Linked DNA regions of Homo sapiens: region 2 is linked to region 1. The links are contacts of gene promoters, found by promoter capture Hi-C in blood cells and fetal thymus (Javierre and others, 2016). All regions are on one chromosome and are shown on one strand. The core of a region is centred on a gene start or on the middle of the fragment in contact, and the rest is flanking DNA. Distances in the headings are between cores, read along the strand shown. Region 1 holds the start of NRP1 (neuropilin 1). Region 2 overlaps PARD3 (par-3 family cell polarity regulator).

Region 1 (6,659 bases), core at 4,057-6,556:
GATACTAAAATGTTGAATGAACCAAATGACCTCATCTCTCTGACCATGAAAAGCTAGTTTACTAAACCAACTCAACAGGTTGTCGAGCACTTCCTACAGGTAGGAAGATTTTGATATTACTCTGTTCTTTCCCAAAAGAAATGTGTGTTCAAATAGACTGTCTTTAACAATGAATATACTTGCAAAATAATATTTAGGTCCAGCGGTAGCAGTAGTCTGTAGATATCATATACGGTTACACCAAACTGACCCACTTTAAAACTTGTGAAAACCTCTCAGTCCCTGAGAAACACTTTAGAATTGAGATTTAAATCGATTATTTTTCTTTGATAAAACTATTTATATATGTACAAACTTAAAAGATGGATATTCAGGTTCAAGTCTCTGGAGACTACACCACTTTCAGTGGGTCAGAATGGGATAATGTGGACAAGACAGAGACAGGGGGTCTGTTGGGTGTTAAGAGAGACGAGCAAACATGTATCTGAGTGGACTGCTACGTGCAAGGTAAAAACATACTTTCGATACTGTGGAAAGCAATATCCACATACCAGTTCTTTCACATAAAGTGAGGAAATATAATTTCGACTGTCTCTATAGTGAGAATGTCTTCATAATAACGAAATTGGGCATAAGTTGATGTTTAGAAACTTAACAATAGAAAGAGATAGCAAGACTAAGCAGGTGGATGAAACACTGATGTGTATTTGAGTTCCCATTGTATTCATCGTGTCTTAACAATTATTTTCTAGCATTTTCCATAAAAGTATTTTAATCAGTAATCCACCATTTACAAAACCCCTCATCTGGCTTATCCTGTAGGCCTTATTTTATTCAATTTGCTTTTTCCATGTCAAACTTACTTAGTAAGATGAATGCAGTTCTTAAATCATAAGATGTGCCACAGTTCAATATATCTCAAATAGTGAGATCTCCAATCACACTATCTGTGGATGCGATGTATATTAGTGATCCACTGTATTTCGTAAAAATACAAGTGAGATTTTTGAGTTTCTAGTTCTTCCCCTCTCCAGGAAAAAAAAAAAAAGAAAGAAAAAAGAAACATACATACTGTATACATTTCTTAACAAGAGTTCCCAAACCAAAAGTGCTAACAGGAAGGAGTATAAGAGCTTACACATTTAACTATAATCTTCCTGGTTTGGGGAACTCAGAAATCACTTAACGTACTTCAATTTCCATACCATTGACATATAATCTGGCTGAGATTGGAATCCCTCCTGGATCCATTTATAATCTACATTGTACACACCGACTTCCCCCCCGTAGACAGGCGTGACCACTAGATGGTGCTGTGGTGCCCTGTTCAAAAACATTCCCACTTACTTGCAGTCTCTGTCCTCCAAATCGAAGTGAGGGTTGAAGTTGATCATAATTCTCTGGTATGGGTCCGGAGCCTGAATCAGCCATTCGCATTTTTCACTTGGGTGATAAGAATGAGGATAACCAGGAGATGTAAGGTACCCGGGGCTTTCAATTTTTATAGTATCGCCACATTTATCTGCAATGAAAGTAAGATTTTAGCAGATCTTTCCTGACAACCTGTTAGGTAATCTAGCTTTATATGTAAATTACTGGTTATTAAACATTCCTTAACTTTTTAAGGGGAACTCTAAAAGGTCCCCGTAAGTCCTTCGTGTGGCTCTGAGTGCAACACTCCAGGAAAAAACACTCTTTGATCTCAGGAAGGTTGACTCAGGCAGAAAGCCAACTGAGATCTGAGAGGACTCTTCCCCCCAGCCCCGAAGTTTCTTCCTAAGGAAAAGGTCTTCTAGCATTAAAAACATTAAATCCCCTCAATTGATGTTAACATGGTCCCCTGGGAGCTTCTGCTAGACTTAATTATCCCCCAAGAAGTGTAATCACATTAAGTAGCAAGTTCTAAGTGGAAAGTGACTGAAAGATGCTGTTCGACCCCTTGTGTTGTTTTTTGATGATAAGCCTGGTCTATGTCATTGATCAGTGGGGATTGTCTTTGATTGGCTTAAAGCCAAACCTTTTGTTGTTGTTGTTTTATCTGCCCATAAATCTAAGTGATTTTGAGTTATCTCTGCTCTTGAGATCCAAATCAACAGAGAACAAAGTATATTTGGTGAAGCAGAAATAATTCTGCTTTACTTCTCCAAGTAAAGTTGTTCAAGCTTGGAGATCGGATCAAAGCAACGGGGCAGAAGGAAAAGTAAATAGCCACATGGCATTAATTCTAATTACCTAAATGTTGGGTGAAAAATAACCCACCACACAGGTCTGGGTATCACATATGGTAACCCACATTCTCACATTCTGGGAAAGGTGAGCTAAGTAGTTTTGAGCCTTCATTTCAAAAATGCTCAAGTGAAGCCAAATAAACCAAGTAAACCAGTCTCTGGGCTGCCTATATTGTTCAGCATAGATTCTCATTGTCACATTTTATGATGGATTTCATACTGGAGCACCTCAGCCTGAAATGCTGCCACATTTATTGATGCTTAATTTTGAGCAATAAAAATTCGGTGCATAAACTATATAAGAGAAACGGTATGAAAACAGTGAAATATATAAGCCTATCAATCACAAATTTTCAGTAATGGTAGATGTAGATTTTAACACTGCATCTAATAGATTCCCTGTGGAAAGAGAATGGCATTCTTTGCTCTCAGCATGAATTTATAAATCTACAGAATTTTATTACAGGAAAACCAGGTCAAATGGAAATGAAAGATGAAGTGCACATCAAAAATGCATAAAGCTACATGCATTACAGAAATCATTTCCCATAAATTAAAAAAAGAAGACAATATAAGTTATATTGTTTTTCTCAATCGCTAGGTGCTTCTGACTTTGTTCCTTAGACTGGGGGTAGTCTTATGCTGGTTTCCTTTGCACTGGCTTGTAAAAGTGTAAGCTTTGCCAGGAAGAAATGATGTTGCAACTGGAGTTCAAAATCTCAGCTAATGATCATGTTGGACTCTGTTATGTGATTCTGCTGAGACTCTTGCATTATTTTGAATGTGCAGAAAACTTGGAAAGTGACCTCGTCTCATTAAGTTTCCTCTAGCTCTGGACAAACATCATGGTAGTGTCTGGCATCTGTTACAGGAGTGAAATAAAACAGCACTGGTTCTAGTCACTCGACAGAGTCACTTCAGAAGACATTTAGGTGGACTTGGTACCACACCAGAGCTCTTTAATCTGTGACTTCTGAGAAAGTGACAGTGTAATAAGATAATGTGGACTGCTAGACTCCCTGGCTCTGTTCAATCTCTCTAGCAGTTGATTAAGAAAGAGCAGTTTCTAATGACTCTGGACCATTAGTCCTAAATAAGGTTAATGAATTAATTTAGCAGACACTGGTTACTCAGAGGAGGTGGACATGGCTTTGAGAGGTCTGCTGAGTTACAGAGGCATTTTCTGGCTCTGGTCACTTCAAGCATAGCGACATGGCTTTTGCTGGTAAAGCTCAACAACTAAAGCCAGATTTTCAGCATTCCCCAGATTTCTGCTAAGAAAACTAAGAAGTGTGTGTGTGTGTGTGTGTACTGCATATATATTTGTGTAGTTCACAACCTAAAGTCTGATAGCTCTTTGCATTGAGCTTCAAATCTATCTTGTGAACACCCCCACTATGGATTTAGTCTCAAGAGTTGTGGAGGACAGGGTTACTATAATTTCTAGTCCAACCATTTGAGCTCTTTCAGTTGGACGAGAATGCTATTTCATTCCCTGCCAGAGTATAGAAAGATGCTACCAGCTCAGGTTCATTAATAAATTGAATTCTACATTCATAATTTTTTGTGTCTTGCTTTCCTGCCAGATTATAGAAAAATGCCATCAACTTGGGCTCATTAATAAGCTGAATTCCATGTTCATAATTTTTTTTTTTGCATGTGTTTTGCTTTAAGCATCTCTTAAAATACTGCTTGGTAGCTGCTGAGGGAAATCCATTGCTAAAATCACAAAACCTTGAAAAAGCATATTAGAGAGATTAACTTCCATCATAAAGATGTGATTTAAATTCCTGTTGGTATGAGGCCCTCCACTTGCGGTCTCTTATTAAAACAATATACCACAGTAAGTAGTGGATGTTCTTTTCTTCTAATTACTGTGATTGAAATCTAAGCCAGACAAAAGTAAATATTTGATCATTAGTTAATAACAATTGCTGACGACTTACTGTAAAGATAATTGCATACCCTTGCCTGCACTTACTTTACAGTGTGAAGTCAAACATGCCTACAACCAGATCCCATTTTAAAACACATTATTTAGGTTACATGGTACTGTTTAGACCCCAGTATAGTTTTTCATTTACTTAACAGTGAGTGATTTTAAAAGCTAAGTGGAAGCTGCAACTAGCTTAGGGATTTTCAGATATCCTGGTGCCTTACACTGTATATGTCAGATTCCTGTATTGATACTATGTAACTTTCAGTCATACTCCAGACAGATTACGGAAGGTGTACAAAGGCGGGGGAGGGAGTTTCATCAACCCACAAACCGATATCTCTGGCCGTCACCCACCAGAGGAAACGGCTTAGGGGAGCAGCAAAGGAACCAGGAAGTAAGATCTCCTGGTAAAGTGTTCATTAACTTTCAACAGCCATCAGATTTTTGAAAGGGAGTCTCTTCTAATTGCCTTTGGGAGGAAACATTATTAAGATAATTGGCATGCTGATCTGGGAAGGTAGACAGCTCTGTCTTGTAACAGAGGTAAGGAAAAGCCCCACAGCCCAAGGATCAACGTCAGGAGGGAGCCCAAAGACCTGAAATCCTCCTGCTCTAAACCGCCTGATCTCATTTCTTCTTCTCTCCTCCCAGATAAAAGTTTCCTTCGCCCGGGAGTCGGTTGTTCCCGGCTGATCCCGGGAAGCCCCGCCTGAGCCCCGGTCCGGGGCGGGCAGCTGGGAGCCGGGGCGCCGCTGTCACCCGCGCCTCTGCCTGTCACTTACCGTTGCGAAAAGCGCCGGCCGGGGCGAGGACGAGGGCGAGCACGGCGCAGAGGAGCGGCAGCCCCCTCTCCATTCTCCCTTCTCCGGGTCCGCAGGCAGACGCGGGAGAACGAGGACGTGGGGGGAAATGCAGCAAAGAGGAGAATCTAAGCGATCCGAAGAGCCCCAACTCCGCCTAGAGCTGTACAATCCTCAGCCCGTCTTGGAGAAAAGAAAGCAGCGAGGCAATGCCTGGATCCGAGAGGAACGCTTCTCTTTTTGTGTCTCAAGTCGCCTGCATCCTGTCATTTAGCTCCGGCTTCCTCTCCCTTTTCCCACACTTGTTCCTCTTCCAGGAGCCACTGCCCGGGCCATGTCTCAAAAAAAAAAAAAAAAAAAAAAAAGGCCGGGGGGGGGCTGTGGGTGGGAGGGGGAGGAGGGAGGTAGGGCAACACACACCAAAGCCAATTTCCAGGAAGAAAAAAAAAAAATCCGGCTTGTTTCTGGACCCGTTGGAGCCGCGGAGCTGGCGCCCAGGGGAGGTCCGGGTGTCTGCGGGAAGGAGGGGAACGAGCAATGAAAAGATGAGCGGGAGACAGAGGAGTTTCACCAACTGCACCCCCGCCTCCCCTCCTGCGGCCTCCCCCCACTCCGGAGCCCTTCCCTCGCTTCCTCCCGCCCCTCTCCCCGCTTGGGCTCGCCTGTAATTGCCTGACAGGAGACTGGGAGGAACAACTTTCCCTCCGAGTGCTCTCCCCGTCCGTCTGTCTGTCTTTCCCAGAGACCCTGCAGGGATCTCCGCGGGAAGGAAGGCGCTGGGAGTCTGCGCCCCGGTCGCGTGGGTGCGGGCGTCGGAGGAAGGGGCGCGGAGGTCAGTGCCAGCCGCAGGGTCTGGCCAGCCCACCTCGCGTGCTCGCTCTGCACCCCTAGAGGGAGAGCTGGGCAGCTCCTGCAGGCGCAGATCCCGCCGCCGCGCAGTGCGGAGCGCCCGGGAGGTGGCGGCTGCTTCTCGCAACTTCAAATCCCGGGGCCCGCGCCCTCGGCGGCGAGGAACGCAGGGTCACCCCCTGCCACTCCTCATCGCGCCATCCTGAGACCTGTGGCGGGGAGCAGCGGGGCACCCCTGGACGCCCCTGCCCAGAGCTGGAGGGCGAGGAGGGGAAAGCCGGGCTGGAGTGGGAGCCGCACCGCGAAGCCGGGCGAGGGGCAGCAGTGTCGCTGTGGTGTGAAGCGAAGACAGACCGCCTGGGCGGGCGAGGCCGGGCTGCAGCCCCACGCGGCCTCCCTGGCCCGCATCAGGGCGCGCGGCTGGGTGCCCTCTGCGCGCCGCGGAGGCTTCATTGTTTCCCGAGATTTGGTGCCCGTTCCTCTGGGGCAGAGGGAACACCGGAGGGTGGGAGGTGCTGCGCCTTCCAAGCAGGGGGGCAATCGCCGCCCGACCCCGCCCAACCTTGTCTGGGAGCCCAGGTGCTAGGGAGGGGTGTGGAAATCAGGGGTCGGGCGGCCCCCGTTTCTCTGTGCATCCCGAGGGAGGGAAAGAGTGGCGGGGGAGGGGTGCTCTTCGCTGCGCCCTCTCAGTGTCCGCTCCCGGCCACAGACAACGTGCACGCCGGCCCTGGAGCTCCTGCCACCCCCACTTCCCACAGCGGCTCGTGCCCCCAGCCCGCTGGATGCCCCCCAGGCCCGTCCCCGAGGGTTTTCCGAGAAGTGCTGCAGGAAGCGTTTGTAGAT
Region 2 (6,772 bases), core at 2,300-4,799, 1.1 Mb after region 1:
CCAGTATAAATTAAAATTGAAGACACCCTAATTTTCAAATAATGTCTAAATGATTTCCAAGAGAATTACAACTTGCAGTCATCTGTGTATGTTTTCCAGTAGAAATATACCAAAATAGATAGCTGCTGCTTCTATACTTTTCCAGTAATTGTTGTATCTGTTCCATGGGCATTTATCATATTCTTCTCTTATATACATACCTTATCTCTATTAGTGGACTATAAGCTCCTAGCAGACAGAGAACATAAGATTCAGCAGTTCAAGCACTGAACTAGTAGTAAGGTCTTGATAAATGACAACTGAATGAAGGCATGATTGAGGTTAGCTGAGGCAAACAAGTCTATTTCTATAAGCTTTTTGCAAAATAGAATACAAGTGAATAGAATTTAGATTCAGATTCTTTCTTCATGAAAGTATCATTTCTACTAAAGATATGATGAAACTGAAATAAATTAAACTCAGACAAAAGTCCTATTTCACTTGTAATTTTGCAGTTTAACATTTTTACGATATTAGTAAGGTCAACGATTAATTTCATTCTAACTTTTATTAATAAATATAATAAGGTGGCATTATACTAGAGTGAAGCCTATCAGCTTGCAAGAATTGTAATTTTAGCGTTGAGAATCAGCACCTACTAGTGTATGAGTCTAAAAATATTAGTGACTAGTAAAAACAATATTATGTAGATAATATTTAGTTACTTATTATCATTTATTGCAGCTATATAAAGACATAAAATTATCTCAACTCAAAGGTAAGAATAAAGTACACTGATTTATCTTCAGGAGCAACTTAACTCTCAGTTCATATTTGGGAGAAAGAGATTCCATAATATGCCAAACCAAAAATGAAGTTATTGTTTAAATGTGATCATGTCCATAATTTATCTCCCTAGGATTCCCTATTGTTTGTTTCTATCTGCAACTGAACAAAGTGTTCTATCATAGGAATCAAAGGAATTATTGGCTGGGCACAGTGGTTCACGCCTGTAATCCCAGCACTTTGGAAGGCTGAGGCAGGCAGATCACCTGAGGTCAGGAGTTCAATACCAGACTGACCAATATGGAGAAACCCCCTCTCTACTAAAAGTATAAAATTAGCTTGGCATGGTGGCGGGCACCTGTAATCCCAGCTACTTGGGAGGCTGAGGCAGGAGAATCGCTTGAACCCAGGAGGCAGAGGTTGCGGTGAGCCGAGATCGCGCCACTGCACTCCAGCCTGGGCAACGCAAAACTCCGTCCAAAAAAAAAAAAAAAAGAATTATTAAGATATATCTATGATTCCGATGAATGAGGAAGATTAATACAAGAAATTAAATTAAATCACAGTTACTGGTACCACTAGAACATGCAGAAGATATCTGACCACTTCAGTTTCAAAGAACATCTTGAAGGAAACGATGTCTCAGTCACCCACAGGTAATCATAACAGAACCACATGTGAGGTGCCACAGCTGTAGTTAAAAGCCACCACTATAAACCAGACACACTTTGGAATGTGTATGCTTTCAGTCCTTGCAATAAAAATATGCCCTACCAAGACTCACTCCAGTTAATGAGTTTTTAATTGGTGAAATCATAAGCGATTTCCCAATATGACTACAATATTACTGCAAATGTAAGTGACTAACAATTAGTATGTTTTTATGTATTATATTTTGTGTAATCTAAAATAGTCCATAGAAAATTTTTACAAAAAATATATATATAAACGGTCTTCAATGGAAATTACTTAGCAGTTAATTAGCACCGATCATTTATTTAAATTTATGAAACTATCTTGGATACATCCTTTCAGTATTTATGACAACTTAAAACAGTGTAACTTATAAATCCTTTCACTTTAATTTTTTTTGAGACAGAATCTTGCTCTGTCACCCAGGCTGGAGGTATACTGGGCTCAATCACAGCTCCCTGCAAGCTCAAACCCCGGGGCTCAAGCAATCCTCCTGCCTCAGCCTCCTGAGTAGCTGGGATTAGAGGTGTGTGCCACGACCCCTGGCTAGTTTGTTTGTTTGTTTTGTAGACTTGGGTTCTTACTATGTTGCCCAGGCTGGTCTTGAACTCCTGGACTTGGCCTCCCAAAAGTATTGGGATTACAGGCTTGAGCCACTGTGCCAGCTGAAATCTGCTCTTTAATTCTAGAAGTAACATCAATAATTTTTTTCAGATAAGTAGATGAACAGATTTATATTCATCTCATAATTTTTCAGTTTTAAACCTATGTGTTTTTTTTCTGGTAATCATTCTAGACTAATAATCCAAAGTAGAAAAGCATGTAATGTTCCATTTCTTGAATGGTTGTCTTTCTAAATAAGTCCTCATCAATGGCCAAATGCATTAGCAATCCTAACATACAGTAGAAATTCTACAAATCATAAATACACCACACACGTATAGAAACTATAATGGAAATTTATTAACTGAGGCTTTAGCAACCAACATTGTTATAAGTCATGAAAATCTCAGATCTCAGATTCCTTTTACTCAGTACAAGAGACCTGATGGGGGGCTGGGAGATAGAGGGTGGAAGAAGACTGCAGAAGAGAAAGAACATCACCCTGACTGACACAGCAAGAGATGAGGGAATCAAGGGAACAGACTGAATTAAGGTGAAGTTAGTAGCCTGCTGATTTCTAAGTACTTAACCACACTATTAGAATCATTCTCTCAAAAAGAATGGATTAATTTAAAAGGAAAGTGGTACAATCTGCAAAATTATCTCATTTACTCCACTAGGTGAAAATGATTGCAAAGGAATGGGAATGAACTATCAAAAGAAAAAAAAGTCACAAGAAAATCCAACTGATAACAGCTAGACTGAGAATGAAAAGAACCTCCGAAGGAAATCAAAAGTAGTAAGAAGAGACACTTTCCTGAAAAATGTGTGCTCGCGAGCAGATACATTTCCATAGCCCTCATTTGCAACTTAAAGCTGTATCAAACAATATAATTAAAAACAAATTTTAGGGATATATTTTGCAAACTCAACTAGAAATCAGAATTTGTTCTAAAGTAATAAAGAACCAACTGCCTATGGTATGGCTGCTGCAACAGTTTTATTAGAGAAAGTAATCAAAGCAAATGAAGTTCTAAACATTTTGGCACGTCAGTGTGCTGGTAGAGAGAACAGTGTTCCTTCTTGGCAGCTAATACCAGAATTCCTTATTGGGTCAACCATGTTCCATCCTAAGAAGAAACCACTTTGCAAAAAATAAAAGAGGTAGGTGTCAGGAAAGGAGGCATTGGAGTAAGCTCTGTTTGGGGAATGGTTCCAAGAGCAGAACAACCCCAGATTTGTTATGCTAGGACAAAAGACATAAGAGAAAAGAGTTGGGCATTTATTAGTGGGGTGGCGCAGATTTAAGAAGAAATGATTATAGGGTTTAGGGTTATGTGAAACAGAACCTCCTCTACCTTCCTTATGAATCTAAGATAAACCCTACTTGGCTTTATGCTTTTCAAGCAAATGGATTTTTCCTGATGGAGCTGAAACATCCCCAAATCTATTCCTCTTCTAGTCTCCTATATTTTCTTCAAAATTTGAAAAGAAGAAAACACTAGATCCGCTGCATACAAATATCACTTCTGAATAATTTTCCTAATACAAAAGTATGTTACATGCATATTTCTTTCAAGACTTCGTTTTTGAACAATGTTTCTTAAAAAAAAAAAAAAAAAAAAAAAAAAGACAAGCTAGGGTACAGTAGCACAAAGCGAGCCATTGAAATGCTGCTTCTTTGTACATGATTTTGGATGCATAATTAGAATTTAACTACTTAGATTATATTAAGGATTGCACCACTACATTTTTACAAGGTTCATTAGCCTAATTATACACTTAATTAAAACAAACGCAGTCACACATGTTAACATTTTCAATTCTAAGTATAAATTACAACCAATGATAAAACTGAAAATAAGTAACAAATGTTTTATTGACATCCAAATTGGCTGAGTAAGTCTGAGTTTTGCGTTGATAATGTAAACTACCACAACTGCCACCCAGCTGTATGGAAATGATTATAATTCATCTTAATAAAGGTTGACACAGTATAAACATCACAACGGTAGGGAAGGCAGAATATGAGTGGGCAGAATAGGGTCTCATCAACAAGAACCGCTCAGCTCCCTGAGTACAGCCCATGGGGGGCCAGCAACTACCTACATGAGCCCAGAAAGTACTGCCACTGAAAGCATGGACACCAAAAGGAGAAAGTTTAAAGGAATGCCAAGTTAAAACTTTAAATCTTAATTTTTTTTTTAGAAAAACTTCAATGAATGAGATAAATCAGGCCAAAAAGGTAAATAAAAATGGAAAATTCCTTTAGATTACAGCAGAAATCACAGATGTCATATTGCTATATATAAAGAGACATGATTCATGTAAGTGTAAACTGCAACTTGTCTCTCTAAAACCAATGCGTATGTTATAGTTCTTTATTATAACAAATGAGTCTGCGGCTGAGAATGCACAATTGAAAACTTTCAGACAAAAGACTATTGATTCAGCAAATAAAGTTAAATTGCGTTTTTTTCAAAAGTTATTAAATTAAAATTGAGTACTCAAAAGTTCAAGAGCATATTTATTCTCAGCTAGTTTGTGAAGCTCAAATTGACTGTAATTCTTCATTAGCATATGTACCCAATTAACTAAACAAATGTGTATTGGGATTCTCAATTTTACGACATAATAGTAAATTTTCTCCCAGATTCATGATATAAGAGGAAAATGATCACTTTCTCTGATTGGGTAGACTAATCACTACCTACCTAGAATACCAAGCACCAGAATACCAAGCACCACTGGAGGGAATTTCAAGGCACATAACAAAAGATAAATTGAGTATAAAATCTCTTCTCATGATTTGATCATTCTTATTAGCTGCCACTGCCAAGGACCTTGCTAAATGATTTACATATATTTTCTTATTTAAACCATACAAAAGTCATGATTCCTATCCTTCATATGTAAGGAGTAGGGCTAAGTGAGGCTAACTTGCCCAAGGCCACACTACGTAAAAAATACTGAGCAAGGTATCCTTCCCCAGTCCTGACAATCCCCGTGCCAATAAAACGAGGACAACATAAGGTCAAGTCAGTCACTGACTGACACAGAGAGGTAATACAAAATTCCCAACTCCAAATCTGGGGAAAATAAATTGCGTTTTCAATACATAATAGAGCAAAAAATGATAAAGAATATCTTAGATGAACAAAAGGGTATAACAAACAATATAGTTTTTTTTGTGTGTGTACACATTTAGTTTTATTGTAACAAAGCAACTTGTACACTTTTAACGTTTAAAACTGAGCATCATCTTTCCTTTCCAGCGAAACAAAAAGAAAATTTAAAAATATACAGGAACAAAATTACAATAGAGAATGTCAATTCCAAATAAGATCCTACAGGTTCTGCTGACTCCCCCATTGAGTGGCAGGGCTCAAGTCATCATTAGGACAGAATTTATTTTAAAAGTGTCATCTTAAACTGCAAGGATGTCTGTCAAATATCACAATTAAACATGCCAAAGGAGAAGCCATGTTGTCAAAATGCCCACTTAACCCACCCAAACATCTCAAACCCACCCTTTGCTGACCTTCTATAACCTCATTTTTTTTTTAGTTTTTTTTTTCTTCTTTTAAACAAGAGAAAGTAGACAGATACATGTTGGTAAATGCTAACTGTCCATATTCACATAGAGACACAGTGTACTCTCTGAGCCCAATATACAGAGAAAGGAGGAAAAAAGCTAGAATTCTATGCACTACTGCACAGGGGCCTAGCGCCCTCCAGCTTCCAGCAGAGCGAAGGGAGAAGGTTTTTCTTTTTTCCCACAGAGCTCGGTGGTGTTGATTCCATACAGTTTTTGTTCAGACAGGAAGGGATAAAAATGACAAACAATATAATTATAATCATGTAAATCTTAGTTGAGGGGAGAGTGAAGCTCAGATTCTGCTGAATTAAATGGATGAGTATGGTATGTCTCAAGACCATCCAAAGATGTTTGACTACTAGTCTTGTAGACAGAGAAACATCAGTTTATATTTGAGGGGGAAATTATTCAAGACATGAATGCAGGATGTAAAAAACAAACTTTTATATTTCAGTGATTTTCTGAATATAGATTAATTACAAAATACAATCTGCATATAGATTATTTTAACCACCTTCTAATTAATCTATATTCAGGTTTAAATAGAATGCAAATAATAATACTTATGAAATACATATTTTCCAACAGGGTCACTTTTATTTCAACTCAAAAACGCAAAACATTAAAAATATTCTCCTAGTGGCCAGAAGTGATGGCTCACACCTGTAATCCCAGCACTTCGGGAGGCCGAGGTGGGTGGATCACTTGAGCTCAGGAGTTCCAGATCAGCCTAGGCAACATGGGGAGACCCCACCTTTACCAAAAATACAAAAAATTAGCCAGGCATAGTGGTGTGTGCCTGTGGTCGCAGCTACTAGGGAGGCTGAGGTGGGAGGATCACTTGAGCCTGGAGATCCTGCCACCGTACTCCAGCCTGGGTGACAGAGTGAGACCCTGTCTCAAAAAATATAAAGAAAGAAAGAAAGTAAAAAAAAGAATAAATCAATTTTAAAAATAAAAAATATTCTCTTAGAGATGTGATTTCATTTTTCAGCTTCATGATGGAATTTATGGACAATAATGTAACTAAGCAAATAAATAAAGAGGGGAAAAGTCATAAAAATAAACTTTAACACAGAAATTGAAGAAGCTTTTTCCAAAGGATGTTGACAC

What was found. Contacts are between HindIII fragments. The CHiCAGO score rates a contact against its expected background, and 5 or more counts as called.
Region 2: a fragment that was not itself captured here is called in contact with the fragment with the promoter of NRP1 in region 1 in 1 of 17 cell types (megakaryocytes); the score reaches 5.6 in megakaryocytes.

The regions. Positions count from the first base shown.
Region 1 is chr10:33,329,361-33,336,019 of GRCh38, forward strand. It overlaps NRP1 (neuropilin 1), which reads right to left and starts at 5,307. Exons shown (of 17, transcript NM_003873.7): 1 at 4,950-5,307; 2 at 1,348-1,522. The coding sequence starts at 5,022. The HindIII fragment of the contact is 8,759 bases long and covers 2,904-6,659 here.
Region 2 is chr10:34,385,574-34,392,345 of GRCh38, forward strand. The region is part of intron 7 of PARD3 (par-3 family cell polarity regulator); the gene reads right to left. Among named protein-coding and RNA genes, the nearest start is that of PARD3, 430 kb to the right of the region's middle. The HindIII fragment of the contact is 6,396 bases long and covers 352-6,747 here.